3 separate regions of the Homo sapiens genome follow, and all the other regions are linked to region 1. The links are contacts of gene promoters, found by promoter capture Hi-C in blood cells and fetal thymus (Javierre and others, 2016). All regions are on one chromosome and are shown on one strand. The core of a region is centred on a gene start or on the middle of the fragment in contact, and the rest is flanking DNA. Distances in the headings are between cores, read along the strand shown. Region 1 holds the start of PLEKHA5 (pleckstrin homology domain containing A5). Region 2 overlaps PIK3C2G (phosphatidylinositol-4-phosphate 3-kinase catalytic subunit type 2 gamma). Region 3 overlaps PIK3C2G (phosphatidylinositol-4-phosphate 3-kinase catalytic subunit type 2 gamma).

What was found. Contacts are between HindIII fragments. The CHiCAGO score rates a contact against its expected background, and 5 or more counts as called.
Region 2: a fragment that was not itself captured here is called in contact with the fragment with the promoter of PLEKHA5 in region 1 in 1 of 17 cell types (megakaryocytes); the score reaches 7.0 in megakaryocytes.
Region 3: a fragment that was not itself captured here is called in contact with the fragment with the promoter of PLEKHA5 in region 1 in 1 of 17 cell types (megakaryocytes); the score reaches 5.2 in megakaryocytes.

Annotation. Positions count from the first base shown.
Region 1 is chr12:19,128,130-19,131,170 of GRCh38, reverse strand. PLEKHA5 (pleckstrin homology domain containing A5) reads right to left here and starts at 1,438. Exons shown (of 32, transcript NM_001256470.2): 1 at 1,283-1,438; 2 at 1,041-1,120. The coding sequence starts at 1,371. The HindIII fragment of the contact is 7,873 bases long and covers 1-3,041 here.
Region 2 is chr12:18,427,570-18,430,610 of GRCh38, reverse strand. The region is part of intron 18 of PIK3C2G (phosphatidylinositol-4-phosphate 3-kinase catalytic subunit type 2 gamma); the gene reads right to left. The region is part of intron 2 of LOC124902891 (a long non-coding RNA gene); the gene reads left to right. Among named protein-coding and RNA genes, the nearest start is that of PIK3C2G, 170 kb to the right of the region's middle. The HindIII fragment of the contact is 554 bases long and covers 1,151-1,704 here.
Region 3 is chr12:18,556,648-18,559,688 of GRCh38, reverse strand. All of the region lies in intron 26 of PIK3C2G (phosphatidylinositol-4-phosphate 3-kinase catalytic subunit type 2 gamma), which reads right to left. Among named protein-coding and RNA genes, the nearest start is that of PLCZ1, 180 kb to the left of the region's middle. The HindIII fragment of the contact is 2,142 bases long and covers 412-2,553 here.

The DNA.
Region 1 (3,041 bases), core at 189-2,688:
TTCGACCCAAACTGCTCTCAAGCCTTTCCAATCACCAGGACTAGAGGCAGGCCAGTAAGAGAACACATGTTACATTTCAAAGACAAACAAGTCACGAATGTAAACAAAGAATGATAAAAGAAACCCAGACCAGTACAGAAACTACGAGGAGCCTTTTCCAGCTCCACTCACACTTAGCATTCAAACAAGCTCCCAAAGCCACCCGAGAGAGCCGCTTCCCCACGGACTCCCTCCAAACAGGGCCCGGGTGCCCCCATACGGGACACCCCCTCGCACGCCCACCGCCTCCTGGCAGTCTGTGCAACCTCCGTGCGGCTGGCGGGGACTTTAGATCCGGATCGCCAGCAACTGAGGCTGCGAACGCCTCCTCCGGCTCCGGCTGCTCCTCCCGTGGCAGGAGGGAACGCGCCAAGCGTTTCCCGAGCCGTTCCCTGTCACAGAGAGGATCGCAGCACCCCCGAACTCCTCTCCTCCTCCTCCTCCTCCTTCATCAGCCACCTACCCACAAGTCCCACCTAGGAGGAGGAAGCTGCACGGCAGGAGGCAGCGCTCCTGGGAGGAGGGGGAGGATGTGGTTACGTTATCCCGGCGGGCGATCGGGGTCCGGGGCTGCAGGGAGGGGAGTGGGTAAGGACTGCCTGAAGATTGCTGGGGGGCAAGACGGCAGCTGGGGGTCACCGGGGAGTGAGTAGCGGCCGCGGAGGAAAAACTCAGGACTCCAGGTTTCAGGGAGGGGAGCGTCGCCACTCTAGGGTCGCGAGGGTCGTCTAGGCTGGGATGGGGGGAGAAGGCGCAGGAAGAGGGCGCCGTCTCCAAGTGCTGATGAAAGGCTGAGGAGAAAGAGGCGCCCCGAGACTGGAGAGAACTCCCGGCGGCGGAGTCCCCGTGGCCCCTCTACCTGCGGCCGCTCCCGCCCGGCCTCCGCCCCGCCTCGCCGCCTCCCGGGGCCCGCGGCGCGGGGCAGGTTGCGGGGAGCCGGGCGGCCCGGGCTCTGCCGCCTCCTCCAGGCGGAGCCCAACTCCGTTTGGGCCCGGCGTTACCTGTGCTCTGCCGCCGGTGTCCGGTGACCACCGCCTCGCCGGTGACGGGGTGCAGCCAGGTGGTGCTCTTGGCCTCCTCGCTGCAGGGGTGAGAGAAGGGGCAGACACGGAGCGTGAGAGGGGACGCGGGGGCGAGCCGAGGGGCTGCAGGAGCACAGACCCGGGCTCTCCCCCGTGTCGCCAGCCGCCCGCCTCCTGCCCTCCCGCCCCCGCGGGCCCCCGTGCCGTCCCCGGCTCTTTACTTGATGAAGAAGACTCGGCCGCCCCTGGTGATCCCGTAAGTCCAGGACCGGGGCAGGGAGATCCACTCCAGGTTCAGATCCGCCGCCATGTCTGATCCCTAGCCGCCGCCGCCGCCTTCTCCTGCTGCCGCCGCGGCTGCCGAGGGAGGAGGGAACGAGCGAGCGAAGGGAGCGCGGAGCGAGCGCGCCTCCCCGGCCCGGCGCGCCCCCGCGCGCGCCCTACCCCCTCGGGCGGTGCCCGCCCCGCCGCCCCGGCAGGGTCCGGCCCCCGTCGCCGCCCCTCCGCATCCCGGCGGCCGCCGGCCGGCCGCCCCGCCGCGCGCTCGGGGGATGGGCAAGCGGCGCCGCGCCCCAGACCCCTCCCTCGGGCCCCTGCGGCGCGCCCGCCCCCTCCGCCGCGCGAAGGTTCCGGGATCGATTAAAAAAAAAAAAAAAAAAAAAAAAAAACGCGTCCTGCCCCCAGGGCTTTGCCCGAAGGCTTCCCATCCCAGGGCGCGATCAAAGGGAGCCTAATAATGCCCAAGCCCCTGATTTCTCTCTTTCAAACAACAAAAACACAGCGTCTGAGCTTTGTTTTATAAGAGCTGTTGGAGAGCCAACAGATTTTTCCAATATATTTATCGTTTTAAAATGGAAAGCTGTTTTTATTAAAGCACACGAAAGGCCTTTCCTGTTTGTTTGTTGTGTGCCAGATATCAAAGGTTGGACGTGATACGTGGCCCCATGAAATATGAGTGGATTTAGACTTGACAAAACAAGTTTTTTCTCTTCCTAGGCCCCTTAGGTCATATCTTATAAAATAAAAACTCGTCTTTTTCTGGTACTTGTTTTTAAAGATTCACTTAACATCAGTGTGGATTTTTACTTGCCCTGTCTCCAATAGATTACAATAATAGCTTATTTTATGGAGTCCTTGTGACGGTGTACATTTTTAAATCTTCACAACAACTATATATATATGTGTGTATATATATATATGTGTGTGTGTGTGTGTATATATACACACACACACACAATCTATAAAAAATCCCCATTTTACAGATAGGAAAAATGAAGTTTAAAAACACAGTAGTTTGCCCAGTCATAGTAATAACTGCCAAAGCCTGGATTCAAACTGGCTGTAGGATTTCAAAAGTATATTTGTATAACCTCCTTGCTGTACAAGCCCACTTTGTTTTACTGCGATTCACTTTATTGCTGTTTGCAGATCTTTCACATCTTACAAATTGAAGGTTTGTGGCAACTCTGCATTAAGCAAGTCCTAGCACCGTTTTTCAACAGCATTTGCTCACTACATGTCTCTGTGGCACATTTTGGTAATTCTTGCAATCTTTCAAACTTTTTCATTATTGTACCTGTTATAGTGATCTGTAATCAGTGATCTTTGATGTTACTGTTGAAATTGTTTTGAGGGCACCATGAACTGAGCCCATGTAAGACAGGGACTTAATAAATGTGTGTGTTCTGACTGCTCCACCAACCAGCTGTTCCTCTGTCTCTCTGCTTCATCTTGGGCCTCCATATTCCCTGAAATGAAACACTAATAATTGTCTAATAATAATGGCCTAATATTGAAATTAGGCCAACCAGTAACCCTACAATGCCCTTTAAGTGACCAAGTGAAAGGAAGAGTTGCATGTCCCTTACTTTAAATGAAAAGCTAGAAACGATTAAGCTCAGATGTATCAACAGCCAAGAGAGGCCAAAAGCTCGGCCTTGTGTCAAATAATTAGACAAGTTGGGAATGCAAAGGAAATGT
Region 2 (3,041 bases), core at 178-2,677, 700 kb after region 1:
ACATAAGTCTGCATGTGCACAGCTGAGTCCAGGAAACTTAATCCTATTCATACATTGAATAGTAAATTATTGAATGTCTATAAAGTGCCAAGTACTGTTCTAGGTACTTGTGATATATCAGTGAATAAAGCAGAAAAAAGATCCTTACATTGATAGAGCTTGCAAATGGGAGCCTCACTTCAGGTTATCCCCATACTTTGAAAGGAACATTTTGAAGAGATTTTTGCATTAGGTGCCTTAAGTGACACCTTATAAAAGGAGCTGTGTTATAATATGGTTTCCTACCAGACAGTTTTTCATTCCAATTGGTTCTCTCTTGGAGTTTGTTCAATCAGACTTGGTAGGAGGAGTGGGAAAGACTGCAATACTGTTGTTCTACCTACGATGTATCCCATAGCATACTGATGCTCCAGTTTCTAAAAACACATATTTAAATTTTTATCTTCCATAAGAAATACTTATTGTAGGTCAGGTTCTCTAGAACAGGACATGAGGCAGAATTTCACTGTTTGTGATTTACTGAAGAAGTGCTCTTCAGGAAAAATCTTATGAGGGAGTAAGAGCAGAATTATAGGGAAGGGAAAGGAATTAACAAGGATGAGATCTCGGGTCAAGTCTAACCTTGATCTGATTTATGGGGAGGCTCTGGAATGTAAATTATATCTTAGAGATTTTCCCACTTCGTAGGCCAGGGGGCTGTGGAATCAGAGGCTAATTCTCCAGAGAAGGGGCCGTATTTTGTTAGCAGTCACTGCAGCAGATGGGAGTGGGTGCAGCAGCCAGGTAGAGGCGCACAGCAGTGCCTTTGACAGTGCCCAATTTCATATTCCCTGAGTACCATGGAATTTCCAGTACTGTGTGTGAAAATATTGATGGCCTTACAGACATTTCTGTGGATTCATAATTTTTAAAACATTTTTTGAGTATCTACTGAGTTTCAGATACTGTGCTGGATTGGTACATGGAAGAGTGTGACATGATTGCTGTCTTGAGCTACTCTGTGGACTAAGAGGGGGAAGGGACAGGGCAGCAGTGGTGTCAAGGGAGTGTGATATGATGTCTGGCAGAGTCATGAACAGTATGCTGTTTGACATGATGTGGAAGCAATACTCAATCCCAGATGGTGGCTGGGAGAGGGTCAGGGAAAGCTTCCTGATGATGTGACATCCTAGGCAATTGACTCAGAGCCTTCATAAAGTCTGTTATATTATTTTCCTGTGGCTGCCGTAACAAGTTAACACAAACTAGTGATAACAGAAATGTATTCTCACAGTTCTGGAGGCCAGAAGTCCAAAATCAGGGTGTAAGCAGGGCTGTGCTCTCTCCCAAGGCTCCGGGGAGAACCTTCCTTGCCTCTTCCAGCTTATGGTAGCTCTAGGCATTCCTTGGCTTGAGGCTGCAATCAATGCCTCCCTTTTCATGACCTTCTCTCTGTGTGTGTCTTCTCCTCTTCTGCCTCTCTTTAGGTCACTTGGCATTGGATTCAGGGCTCACCCTGATAATCCAGGGGGAACTAATCTCAAGATCTTTAATTAAATTCTATCGTCAAAGACCCTTTTTCTCCATAAGGTCACATTCACAAATCACAGGTTTCTGAGGTTAGGCTGTGGACATATCTTCTTTGGGGCCACCACTCAACTCAATACTTGACTAGTGGTTAAAGTGTTTCCTATTCCAAATGGAAAGGGGCACTACATTTAAGCTTTTGTAATTAATTGTTACATAATGGGGGAGGGGCCTCCTGGGCATAAGCTCCAAATGTTATGGTTCCCATTTATAGCCACCTTTTAGGATGCAAACTGTGAGGTAAAGCTTTTAAATTCAAACACAAAGCTTCTAGTTAACTCACTTGCCTTGGAAAATAGGGGCTATTCATCCTACATTCACTCTTCCAGTGGAAGAGACTCACGTGAGCCTAAGTCAATTTCACCTCTCAGAAAGGCTACCCACAGTGATGCCAAGTAGTCAAGATGGTTTTCATTCCAATCTTACTTATTCATAGCTCAGTATCTGGTGAGGCAACTTTCTGATCACTGATAGTGACAGGTGGAAGTTGTGGAGCAGGGAGCGCTGTTGAGGATATATAGAGTTATAGGGCTTGGTGAATAATTGGTCATGTTAGTGAGAAACAAGGAAGACCTCAAGACCTGTGTGAGCAAGACAGGATATTTAGTTCAGTTTTGAATATGGTGAATCTGAGGAAGCAGTAATTCATCCACGTGAAAAAAAATCTCATAAACTCATGACTGATGGGTTTCTAGTTTTTTTTTTTTTTAAATAAGACTTTTTTTTAAGGAAAGATATTTTGAGTATTTTTTTTTCATGAATCGTGAGATGGGAGCTGCATCTTTAAAGTTTTAACACAAACATTTTGCACAGAAGCAGTCACTCCCTAAATATGATGCTTGGCTTGAGCTATATTTTTTAACTCTGATATATTTTAAATATAATTAATATTATTTTATGCTTAGTGCATGTTGCCTGATTCTTAATTTTTATTTGTTTTAAGGGGATGTAGGCACTTTTGAATCTCCCCCCTTAGAGGATCAGGAACAATAACTAATAGGTCATAGGCTTAATACCTGGGTGATGAAATAATCTGCACAATAAATCCCCATGACACATGTTTACCTATGTAACAAACCTACACGTGTGACCCTGGACTTAAAAGTTAAAGAAAACTCCTTCCTGTTTTATTTCTCTTTTTTCATATTCTTACAAACAAAGCTCTCAAAACAAACAGTCCATTTATAATTTATATTCTTTTCTATTCCTTCTTAGTTTCTCCTTGAATCACTGAAAGGAAAAATGGGCTTGATTTTTTTTTTCGAAAGGATGAGAATTATACACAAAAAAGCTTCCCTTCCAACCTTTTTGGAAACAGTGACGTAATTGTGTTTACATGAATTTGCAAGTATGACATTGATTTACCACTTTGTGTGCACCCATTGTTGCCTTTCAAATGACTCCACTTTTCATACAACTTTAGCAAATGAAGAACTTACTGAGGTGGTCCAAGTATTTTAACAATCGTTAGTCAA
Region 3 (3,041 bases), core at 233-2,732, 570 kb after region 1:
TCTCTTGTCCATGCAATTTGGATTATATGTCCAACAGTTTCTCTTCAGTGTGAGAGAGACCTTTTTTTTTGGAAGAAAGCCCCAGTTGAGAATTCATAGATTGCCTAATATTTTTATATTTGCCACAGAACCCTCACCCTTGCCTGTGAAATAGAGTATGCAAAAAGTACTTCCAATTTCAACTGCTTTTCTCAAATTAGCCTGCTCAGCTTCCAACAAATAACTGTTGACTCTTTTGGAGTACTGCTCTCAGGTCAGCCAGAGTACCTGTGGTTTCCCTTAGCTTCCTTCTGTCCAAATGCTCATACGACACAAATCTTGTAATTTAATGGTTTGCCTCCACCTGCTTTTATTGTATGGTTCTTAGGGTATACCTTGTTGCCTAGTTTTGTCATAAATGTTGTCCAAGCTTTTGGATTTTGCTATCCTGGTTGATTTGCCTGTTGTATGTAAGAGATTTAGGGACATTTAAAAACTTGGCATTTTAGCATATATAATTCAAGCAACACAGGAAAATATAAAGTAAAATGTGGAAGGTTCCCTTTTTCTTTTCTCCACAGGAGGCCAGTGCTCCTCCCCAGAAATAACCACTGTAAGCAGTTTGACATCATTCTTTTTTGAACTTTCTCTATATATTTGTGCAAACACAGAGACATGCAAACATACAGACATGCAAACACATAGACACACACATTGTCCTTATTCCTATTGTATGCCAGGTACTATTCTGGTGATGGGATTTAGCAATGAACAGAAGAGATGGAAGTTTTTCGCCCTTTTAGAGTTTGTATAATCTAAAATTCTGATGGTAATTAATCAAGTAAAAATATAGAATTTGATAAAGTAATATGTATTATAAAAGAAAATAGGAAATAAGGAGAGGAAGTATGGGGGTAGATAATAGCTTTACAGTTTTAAATAGGATGCCCACTGAAAAGTGCTCATCTCACTGAAAGATGAGCTGAATGATTTGACAAAGACCTTAACTTGCCATGAAAGTAGGCCATGGGAATTCTGATGAAATGCATTTTAGGCAGAAGCAACAGCTAGTCCACAAGCTCAGAGGCAGATGAATGACTAGAGTGTTTAATGAGCAGCAGTGTGGCTGACACAAAGTCAGTAGAGAAAGAAGGGAATCAAAGACCTAAAGGGCACAATTGCATAAGAACTTTGACTTTGTGTGAGATGAGAGTTAGAGAAGAATCACAATTGTATGTAATGTTGCAATTTGTTTTTGTTAACTTAATAATATATTTTACAGGGAAAAATTAATAGTAACTGGTACATAGTAAGTGATCCAAAAATATTTGTTGAATGACTGAACAATCTTTCTAATTCAGAACATAGCATTAAATCATATTTTTAAATGGCTATATGGTTTCTCCAAATAGGGATGAACAATGTTTAATGTAACAATTTTTTAACTTGCAAAGACATTTTTTTCTTTACTGTTTAACTTTGTCCAAAACCAAGGGTCTGTATATACACAAGACTGTTTCTGGCCTCCTCGTTTTGTTGCATTTATCTCTTTGTCTATCTCTGTGTCAGTATTATACTATCCTAAATAGCTGGAACTTTATAGTACATCTTGAAATCCAGAAGAATGATTATTTTACCTCATTTTCTTTAGGGGGCTCTTCACTATTCTAGGCCCTTTGGCCTCCTAAATATATTTTAGAATTAGCTTATCAAGTTCACCCACACACAAAACCAATAGGTAAGGATTTTGAATGTACTGTATGTAAATTAGAAATCAATTTGGAGAATATTAACATCTCTGTAGTATTAAGACATTCAGTTCACGAATGTGGTATATCGTTCTATTTAGTTTGGTCTTGCATATTTTTTGTTGGAGTTATTCTTTGGTTTGGCATATTTTGTATGGCATAAATGCTATCTTGTACTAACTTTTAATTCATATTTGATAATATATGAGTAGATCTTTAACTCTTATTAATTCTAACAACATATGCATATTCTTTTGAAATTTGTATGTACACAGTCATGTAACCTGCAAATAATGGTAGTGGCTGTTTTTGTCACTCTGCACTGCTAAGAAACTTCCACTTCAATATTAAATGGAAGTGGTGATAGCAACCATTTTTGGTGTGTTCCTGATTACAAAGGAAAAACTTTCAATGTTTACTGTTAAGCGTAATGTTTTCTGTAGGTTTTTAGCTATACGTTAATGACATTCTTTTCTATTTCTATTTTTTTCCTAAATGAATGGTTCTACATTTTATTAACTACACTTTCTGTATCTATTTAGGTGATCATATATTTTCTTTTTAATTTTTAAAGTACTGAGTCTTAAATGTTTACTTTGTAACCACTTATTTTACTAAATTCTTGTTATTTTGATTTGTTTGTGTGTGTGTGTGTCAATTCTCTGGGATCGTATTAATTATTGTATTATTCACTTGAAAAAATAACTTCATAACAAAGTTTAATTAGAGAGCTTTATTATCAATATAGAAGATACTATCTTTTCCCCACCATTAATAAGAATGCTTATCATTTTTAACTTTTGAAAGTATGATGCTTATCTAAGCTTGGATCTATTCTGAGTGTACTAAAACTTTCCAGGAGGAATGGATGTTGAATGTAATCCAGTATGACTTTTCTGGGTTGGCATCTATCAAAGTGATCATGCAATGCCTTCTTTACAACTAATCTGCCATGTCCTCAATGTTAAAAATGTACTTCAATTATGTTTAATAATTTTCCCTTCAATTTCATAAAGATTCAAGGCCATTTATCTTGTTCTGGTCTTAAACTTTTTTGAATAAATTCCAAATTTTTCCACTATTATACATCAAGTTAGGCCAAAACTTGCTAAGAAAGTTAAAATATGACTCTGATCCCATTATTCATCCCAGTGTTCACCATTTCTAAAGATGTTGTTTGCACTTATGAATTTACAGGTGCACAGTGCAGTACAAAACATTATTTCTTCATCAGCACTTTAAAGACATGAGGATAATAGCAGGAGTATAATATTAATCATGATTTATGGAGACTCTACCATTCATTCATTGAAC